Linked DNA regions of Homo sapiens: region 1 is linked to region 2. The links are contacts of gene promoters, found by promoter capture Hi-C in blood cells and fetal thymus (Javierre and others, 2016). All regions are on one chromosome and are shown on one strand. Each heading gives the region's core, a stretch centred on a gene start or on the middle of the fragment in contact. The rest is flanking DNA. Distances are from core to core; before and after follow the strand shown.

Region 1 (3,569 bases), core at 785-3,284, 130 kb after region 2:
CTGTTATCTAAAGCATGGATTCACTACAAAATAAAGATTAAGGTCCATCAAGGCTTTCTAGTAACACTTATTTAAAAAAAAAAAAAAAAAAGATCAATCAAGGCTAAAAACATTAAAAAGAGAGAGAAGGCAACCAAATTTCCAGGATTATCTCATCCCTTTGCTCGAAACCCTTTAATATCTTCCTACCTCACTGAGTCAGTCCTACAGGCCATTTCTTACTATTCTCTTTCCTCTTCTACTCCAGCCACACTGGGCACCCTGCTGTCCCTCAAACATGCAAGTACAGTCCTCCATTGTTTAATAACCAGGACGGATTCTGAGAAATGTGTAATTAGGCAATTTCGTCATTGTGTGAACATCATGGAATGTATTTAAACACACCTAGATGGTACGGCCTACTACACACCTAAGCTATATAGTCTATTTGCTCCTAGGCTACAAACCTGTACAGGATGTTACTCCACTGAATACCGTAGGCAACTTTAACACAATGAAGTATTTGTATATCTAAACACAGCTAAACATTAAAAAGTTACCAAAAAAAGGTATTATATATAAGACCATTGTTAAAGATAGAAATGTCATTTGGCGCCTGACTGTATACTACTCCTCACCTCAGGGCTGTGCTGTTTCCCTCTACCACGAATGCTCTTCTTAAATACGGCTCACTTCATCTCCTTCTGATACCTGCTTAAATCTCATCTTCTCAAAATGGCCTTGTCTGACCAACTTATTAAAATAGTATCCCAACTACAAGTCACTGTTATTTTTTTCCTAGTTGTCCGTCTTCCCCCCAATAGAATATAAACTATAAAAGGAAGAGGCCTTTGTTTTATGCGCTGCTCTATCTCCAGACCCTAGAACAGTAGCAGGCTCTCATAAGAATATGCAGAACAAGATGTTGCACAAAGACAACACATATATATATGTCTCCAATTAAAACTTTTGTCACGGATAACAAAAAAAGCTAAGAAAACAGTTTGAAACCCTGCACGCTCTGCTACTTAGAATGAAATAACTATGCTTTAGAAGGAAATGTTTCATTTAAAAAAAATACACTAACAAATGTCTGGATTCCCTAAAGACAAACATTAATGCTAAGTGCATGCATGCTGCAATTCTGCTGGTACAAAATGCTCTGGTTTATCACAAAAGATCTTCACTAAGCCATTTTCCCAGGAACCACGAAATTCTAGCTAAAGATTCTTAAGGAAAAATAGAGGCAAAATTAACATATTAGTGATATATCGTGATTAGGAAACACACAATATTTCCTACTAGTTGAAACTTCATAGCACCAAGCAAGATAACCGGAAATCGGATCGGGAGTGTCTGCCTCACGGAGACACTGGGAGAGAAAAAGTCCTCAAAGAACTGCACCTCCTTTTCTTGGCGCCAGGCTGGCTACGAGGACTCAGTCCGGAGATGCAGCGGGGTGTGTGGGGTTTGGCAGGAAGAGGCCCGGACTGCGAGTTAGGGGTGTGCCCAGGCCACCTTCCTCTCCCACTGATTTTCTCTCAAGAGAAAACGGAAAGTTGCCTGCGCCTCCTACCCGCTCCCAAAAAGGCCGGGGGAGGGTTGCTGAGGGTAGACCCCTCCCCTTCGCCAAGGCAGGCCTCGGCCCCAGCAGCGCTCCCCAGTTTCCAGCTCACCCGGCTCCCGGTTGATCTCGATGTCGAAGTGGCACTGCGGCCGGTCCTGCGCCCCCATCGCGACCGAGGTGGCGGCAAGAGCTGGGAGAGAGGGGGAGAAAAGCGGTCAGGGCAGGGGCGAGGGCGGGGGCGAGGGCAGGGGCGAGGGCGGGGCTGAGACGAAGTCCGCGCCACGGTGCCTCACGCCGGCCCGTCGCGACAGCGCAGGAGGCCAAGACGAGGCCCCCTCCCGCCCCGGGCCTCGCGGCTCCCACGCAGCGCGCACGCATGCGGGCGAGCTCTTCACCTGGCTGGCCTCCAGCCTGAGCGGGTCCCCGTGAGCAGAAGAGAAAGCACTGCCACTGCAGCCAAACCCCAACGCCGCTAACGGAACGCCGTCTCCTCCCCCAGGCCGGGCCTCCCAATGCCACGCTAAACCCCGCGAGAGTCGGGACAAATACCGCGAGAGTACAGTCTAGATGGGGGTGGTCAACCGAAGGTGGCGGCAGCGGGGGCGTACGCACGGGGGCGTACGCACGGGGGCGTGTCTGGGGAGCTCTCGAGGAGCCTCCAGCCAGCGCTCCTATACCTGCGCGTTCCCTGTTTGCCCCCCCCTTTGAAGTCAGTCGCCCAATCTGAAAGCCGTGGATGCGCCTGCGCCCTCCATCTCGTCAGGTGTGGCTGTGAGCGCCGCGCATTTTCCGATACCGCGAGACTTCTCTGTTTCCGAGCGCTGTGAAGGAACTGAGTGAATTGAGGCTTTGAGTTTTCGTTAGCCAAGACGTTGTGTTGCTCTGTGTTCTTTTTGGCCGGGAGTGGTTATGTCCGTGTCCTACTGTTAGGTCTTTTAGGCTGAAGAATGCGTTCCTTCCCGCTTTGGCACCAGCGTCACTGGCACCGTTTTTGTCCTGTGCTTACTGACCATTCTGCATCTTTTGTGAAGTTTCAGTTCCAGTCTTCTGCCCGTTTTTAAATCTGGTCCTTCGTGTTTAACAGTTCTGGATACAAATGTTTTGTTAGATATATGTATGCTCTGAATGAAAATCTTTTGTTACATAAATGATTGCGAAGTCTTTTTCCCAATCTGGGCCTGTCGTTTCATTGTTTTGACGTTTTTGGCAAAGAAGTTTTTAATTCTGATTAAGTCAATTGGTCAGTTTTATATTTTAATGGTTTGTGCTTTTCCTGTGCTAGGAAATCTCTGCCTACCTCAAGTTCTTGAAGATATTCTGTGTTCTCATATATGTTTTACATAGTCTTTAACGTGTAAGTCTATGATATGATCTAATATCATTAATTTTTGCTTATGTTGTCAAGTAAGTGTCAACATTTTCCTATTGGGATATACAGTCGTTCCATTACCGTTTGTTGAAAAGACTCTTTTTTTTTTTTTTGAGACGGAGTCTCGCTCTGTCGCCCAGGCTGGAGTGCAGTGGCGGGATCTCGGCTCACTGCAAGCTCCGCCTCCCGGGTTCACGCCATTCTCCTGCCTCAGCCTCCCAAGTAGCTGGGACTACAGGCGCCCGCCACTACGCCCGGCTAATTTTTTGTATTTTTAGTAGAGACGGGGTTTCACCGTTTTAGCCGGGATGGTCTCGATCTCCTGACCTCGTGATCCGCCCGCCTCGGCCTCCCAAAGTGCTGGGATTACAGGCGTGAGCCACCGCGCCCGGCCTGAAAAGACTCTTATACATTGAATTACCTTCGCCTTGTGACCATATATGTGTGGGTCTGTTTCTGGATTTTTGTTCCAATGATCTGTGTCTGAGTACCACACTATTTTATAAGTTTTTTTTTTAAACTATAAAATACACATTACATGGGCGGGCGTGGTGGCTCATGCCTGTAATCCCAGCACTTTGGGAGGCCGAGGCAGGCGGATCACGAGGTCAGGAGATCGAGACCATCCTGGCTAACACGGTGAAACCCTTTCTC
Region 2 (4,054 bases), core at 1,081-3,580:
TGAGCTTGTAAAGATATTTTGTCTTGGCAGGTGCCTTGAGGGCACAGCTTGGGGCTGCTAGGAGTCAGGCACCTTCACCTCCCTGGGGTGGTGGTGGGGCTGGGTGGTGTCCTTGGGGAGAATTTCTTGACAGGCATGCAGGTCTCCCAGTGACAAAGGAGCCTTGCAGCCTCTGGCCCACTGGGAAATTGACTGGCTCAGCCAAAGGCATGTTGCAAAGCAGCCCTGCTCTTTGTTTCTGGGGATCCGTGGTTTGTTCAGAGGTGAGAGCCCAAGAGCCCCTCGGCCCTGCCTCAGTCTGGCATTGGCTGACCAGCCTGGTTTGTCCTGTAGCCTCTATTCCCACAGGCCAGGGTAGCCTGGGGCCCCAGGACTGGCTGTGACATAGTGCTGTGAGGCTGAAGGGGAGCCTGGGGGCACAAGGAAGTCTGGGAACAGAGCACATACGGCAGTGAATGGGGACTCACCCTGCTCCCCATCCTGGCTCACTGGGGAGGGAAGTCTGAAGGGGAAGATTCCAGCATCTTCACCTCACCACTGTCCTTTCTCCAGGCACACAGGAGAAGACTGTTCCTACCTCCGAGGTCACCAGCTGAATGGGGGCCAAGCATTACCCACCAGACTTAAGTCGGCACACGTTTCGAGTTTTCTCAAAATGGGTGGGGCTGGGGGACAAGCCAGGTTGTTAGGGGCTTACACCGGTTGTCCACTCTGGTGGCCTGACCTCCTGCTGGGGGTCCTCTAATGTTCCTGTCCAGTCCAGCCCCAGCAGGTATCCAGAAGAGGAAGGGGTTGAGGGAGGGGTGGGGGCCTGGCAGGCTTAGCCTCCACCCAAGGCTGCCTGCCCTCACTGAGTCCCTGCCAGCCTCTCTGGCTGCAGGTGTCTGGAAGGTCCAGGTGTTCCAGCTGAGGAAGGCAGCTGGCCTCAAGTCACACCTGGTGTTCAACCACATGTGGGTGGGGCCGCCTGGAGAAGCGGACCCACTCAGAGACGTCAGTCTCTGACCTGCCCCGCATGCAGGGCCGTGCACCTCCCTCTGGAACCTGAATGTAGAACAGCTTCCTGGCCCAGTCACCGTCCTCACACCATGTAGCTTTCTTTCTGAAGAGAGGCATTATTAGATGTCATTATCATGCAAGTAGTGCCTTCACCAAACAGGCCTCGCTTTTCACTCCTGAAAAGAAGCCTCTTTCATATCCTCTGAAAGCCCCGAAATCAAGCCAAGATCCCCTCCTGCCTTCTCTAGGCCTCTGAGCCAAAGCCCTGAGGATGGAACCCACATCTGTTCCTACAGTATCTTCGGAATAAAGGAGTGGGTGAGGGGTCCAGTGGCCGCGAGGTCAGCCCTGCCTATACCCAGTTCCTGGAGGACCCAGGCCTGACCAAGTCCCCGGCCTCAGCAGGCGATCATGTTGGCAGGCTTGGATCTTCTCGGTAAGAAAACAATGGGAGGGAGGGGTTGGAAAGTGAACATTAATTATTCGGAAGAAAGGTTGTTTCTTGCTACCTCTGATGGGAAGCCACAGGTGCAATTTTAAGATGACTATGCTGTTGTTCTTCCAATACGTGGGCCTCTCCTATGACATTAGCTCTGCGTCTGCAGAAATGAGCCGGTTAGGCCCAGATTTTATCACTTCAAGAGCATGCTGGTTGCAGCTCTCTGTAAGAGCCTTTCTGAGCTGGCCTCAAAAGTTTTCTGCCCCTGGGGCCTTCAAACAGACCCGTGTTGGGTTGTTCAAGGCTCTGGTGTCTCCTGTTCTGTCTCATTTTGAGCAAACAAGAGTTCTGGAAAGAAGGGCAGCAAATCCACAGGACTGCTGCAAGGGTTTCCTGGACCCCTGCTGGCCACTGCTCCACCTCACATGCAGAGGTGAGGCCCAGTAGGGCCTGGTCTGCCTTCCCAGGCTGATGGGCCCCTTCCGCCTTTACACAGCTCTGTGACCAGCCTGGGCCACACACTGGTGGAATCTGCTCTCACGAGGCCTTCCCTGCCCAGTCCCCACAGGACCTCACCTAGGTATGGACCCCCGACCCCCGGACTCTCACAGTTTTTTCCCATTCTTGATTGCTCAACCAGTATTGCCATCCCATTAAAAGGAGGGGAAACTGAGGCCAGGCAAAGTCCAGGGACTCTTCCAAGGTTACATAAAGACAGGGAGGATCAGGGAAGTCCTGTCCAAGATGATAGAGTAAGCAGCTTCAGAACTAGAATCTTGGCCTCTGACTCCCAGGCTAGGGTTCCTACCTGCTACGTGAGAATTAACCTGAGGAACCTTCCTGGGCCTGGCTTCTAGCACCTTCCCTCATCTTCTCTTGCTCATTGAGAATCAGCCTCTAAGGGGAGAATTTCACATGATATGGGTTCCCACTGATATCCCCTCAGACCTTGGGCCCCCTCTTTGTTGACAGAATCAAGCCAGAGGGTGTAAATGGGCCCTTTGTTCCTACTGCCAGCCCATAGACAAAGGACAGCGTTGTCCTGCCTCTAAGCCCTGTCCCGAGCCCTGCCCACTGTCCACTGGAGCCATGCTCCTGCTGTCAACACTCCCCACCCTGACCCCTCAGGCAGGTCAGCTCAGGTTCCAGGCAAAGCCTCCAAGTGGCCCCAGTCCCTCATCTCTGTGGCTCCAGGCAAACTGGTCCTTCTCTGGGCTGCTATCCCCGAAAAGTGGGGGACAGCATGCTGCTGACACTTGGCAGCATAGGGTCTGTGGGCCAAAGCTGCCCCACCCATCAGGCTGGGGTCATAAAGGCACTTGGGGAGAGTGGGCTGACACTGAGCCACAAGGCATGTGCCACGCTCCTTAGGGTGGGAGGTCTTGTCACAGCACAGGGAGATTGGGGAGGCTCTGCCTCTCTGAGGTTTTAGTCACAGTAAAGAGAGCAGGAAGATGGACAAGATGACCCCTTCGAGCCCCTTCCAGGCCTGTGTGGCTGTGACCTCTGTGCCACACAGAAATACAGGAGCTGCTCTGTGCCTTGGCTGCCCAGACTGCTGGTTGTCAGGCTTGTTTCTTCCACAACACACAAATACTTACTAAACTCGACCATGTGTGGGCCCTACCCTCATGGAGCTTACAGTCCCCTCCCACAGGTGACAGGACAGGAATTCACAGGGCAGAGTGATCCCAGAGAGTATGTCTATTCGGGCTGGCATGGTTTGAACCCATTCCCTTCAGGTGACTCTGGTGGGGTGCCTGGGAGGAGGGCAGAGTGAAGAATCGGCCCTTTGCTCCTGCTCCTCCTCTTCCCACATTCTAGAACTGGGGAAATGAATGGGGCTTTCCAAACTGCAGTGCACACACAGAGCCCCTGCTGATCAGCCAGGTCAAGTGTGGGTTCTGATTCAGCAGGTCTGGGGTAAAGCCTGGGATTCTGCATTTCTAACAAGCTGCTAGGAGATGCCAGAGCCACCGATTCAGAGACCACTTGTAGTAGCAAGGCCTTAGAGCATATTTAGGAGTCACAGAGGGGTCTGCAGTTCTCGGAGCCCATCTAAACCACCCCTCTCAATGTTTAGTGGGGGAACTGGGGCCAAGAGAGAGGAAGAGACCTGCCCAAGACCACCGAGAAGTCAGCCCTCAGGATCACATGCCCCAGCCCAGTTTTCAGTACACTGCCCAGCTCTGCAGCCTTCCCTATGCCCTGTACTGCTAGAAAAGTAAGCTCAGGGTCTCACTGGGAAAAGTGGGGGCACAGCGGAGAGCAGCTTGGAACTCACATGTGGGCTCTGGGGGGTTGAAGTTGGGGGGCAGAGTTTACCTTCTGTCCTGGCTCCAGCCAGCAGGTAAGAGGGAAGCAGTGATGGGTTGGCTTAGGGCTGGAGAAAATTGAACAAGTCACAAAGCCAAATGCACAGGCTCCAGGAAAGTGGGCTGGGCTTGGGGACCAAGCCAGAAGATGCAGGAGGGCTGGGAGAGACTGGCAGGGACACAGAGACTGGGCACACCTGACACTGGGTAGGGCAGCCAGGCCCCAAAGGCCACACAGATACCCAGGGCACCCCAGGTCCCCAAGAGCCACCTGCCACAGCACCAGACTAATTCCAGGCCC

What was found. The method cuts DNA at HindIII sites, captures the fragments that hold promoters and counts their contacts. A CHiCAGO score of 5 or more calls a contact.
Region 1: a contact is called between the fragment with the promoter of NKTR here and the fragment with the promoter of CCDC13-AS1 in region 2, in 17 of 17 cell types (neutrophils, M0 macrophages, M2 macrophages and 14 more). The highest score is 33.4, in neutrophils.

Annotation. Positions count from the first base shown.
Region 1 is chr3:42,599,151-42,602,719 of GRCh38, reverse strand. It overlaps NKTR (natural killer cell triggering receptor), which reads right to left and starts at 2,034. Exons shown (of 17, transcript NM_005385.4): 1 at 1,942-2,034; 2 at 1,656-1,736. The coding sequence starts at 1,713. It also overlaps a transcript of SEC22C not described here. RefSeq lists a silencer at 1,731-1,940. The HindIII fragment of the contact is 13,164 bases long and covers 1-3,569 here.
Region 2 is chr3:42,730,851-42,734,904 of GRCh38, reverse strand. It overlaps CCDC13-AS1 (CCDC13 antisense RNA 1), which reads right to left and starts at 2,330. Exons shown (of 4, transcript NR_046732.1): 1 at 2,247-2,330. CCDC13 (coiled-coil domain containing 13) reads left to right here. Exons shown (of 16, transcript NM_144719.4): 11 at 1,296-1,435; 12 at 1,935-2,018. RefSeq lists enhancers at 415-1,098, 1,099-1,784, 2,314-2,608, 3,961-4,054 and a silencer at 2,314-2,608. The HindIII fragment of the contact is 15,297 bases long and covers 1-4,054 here.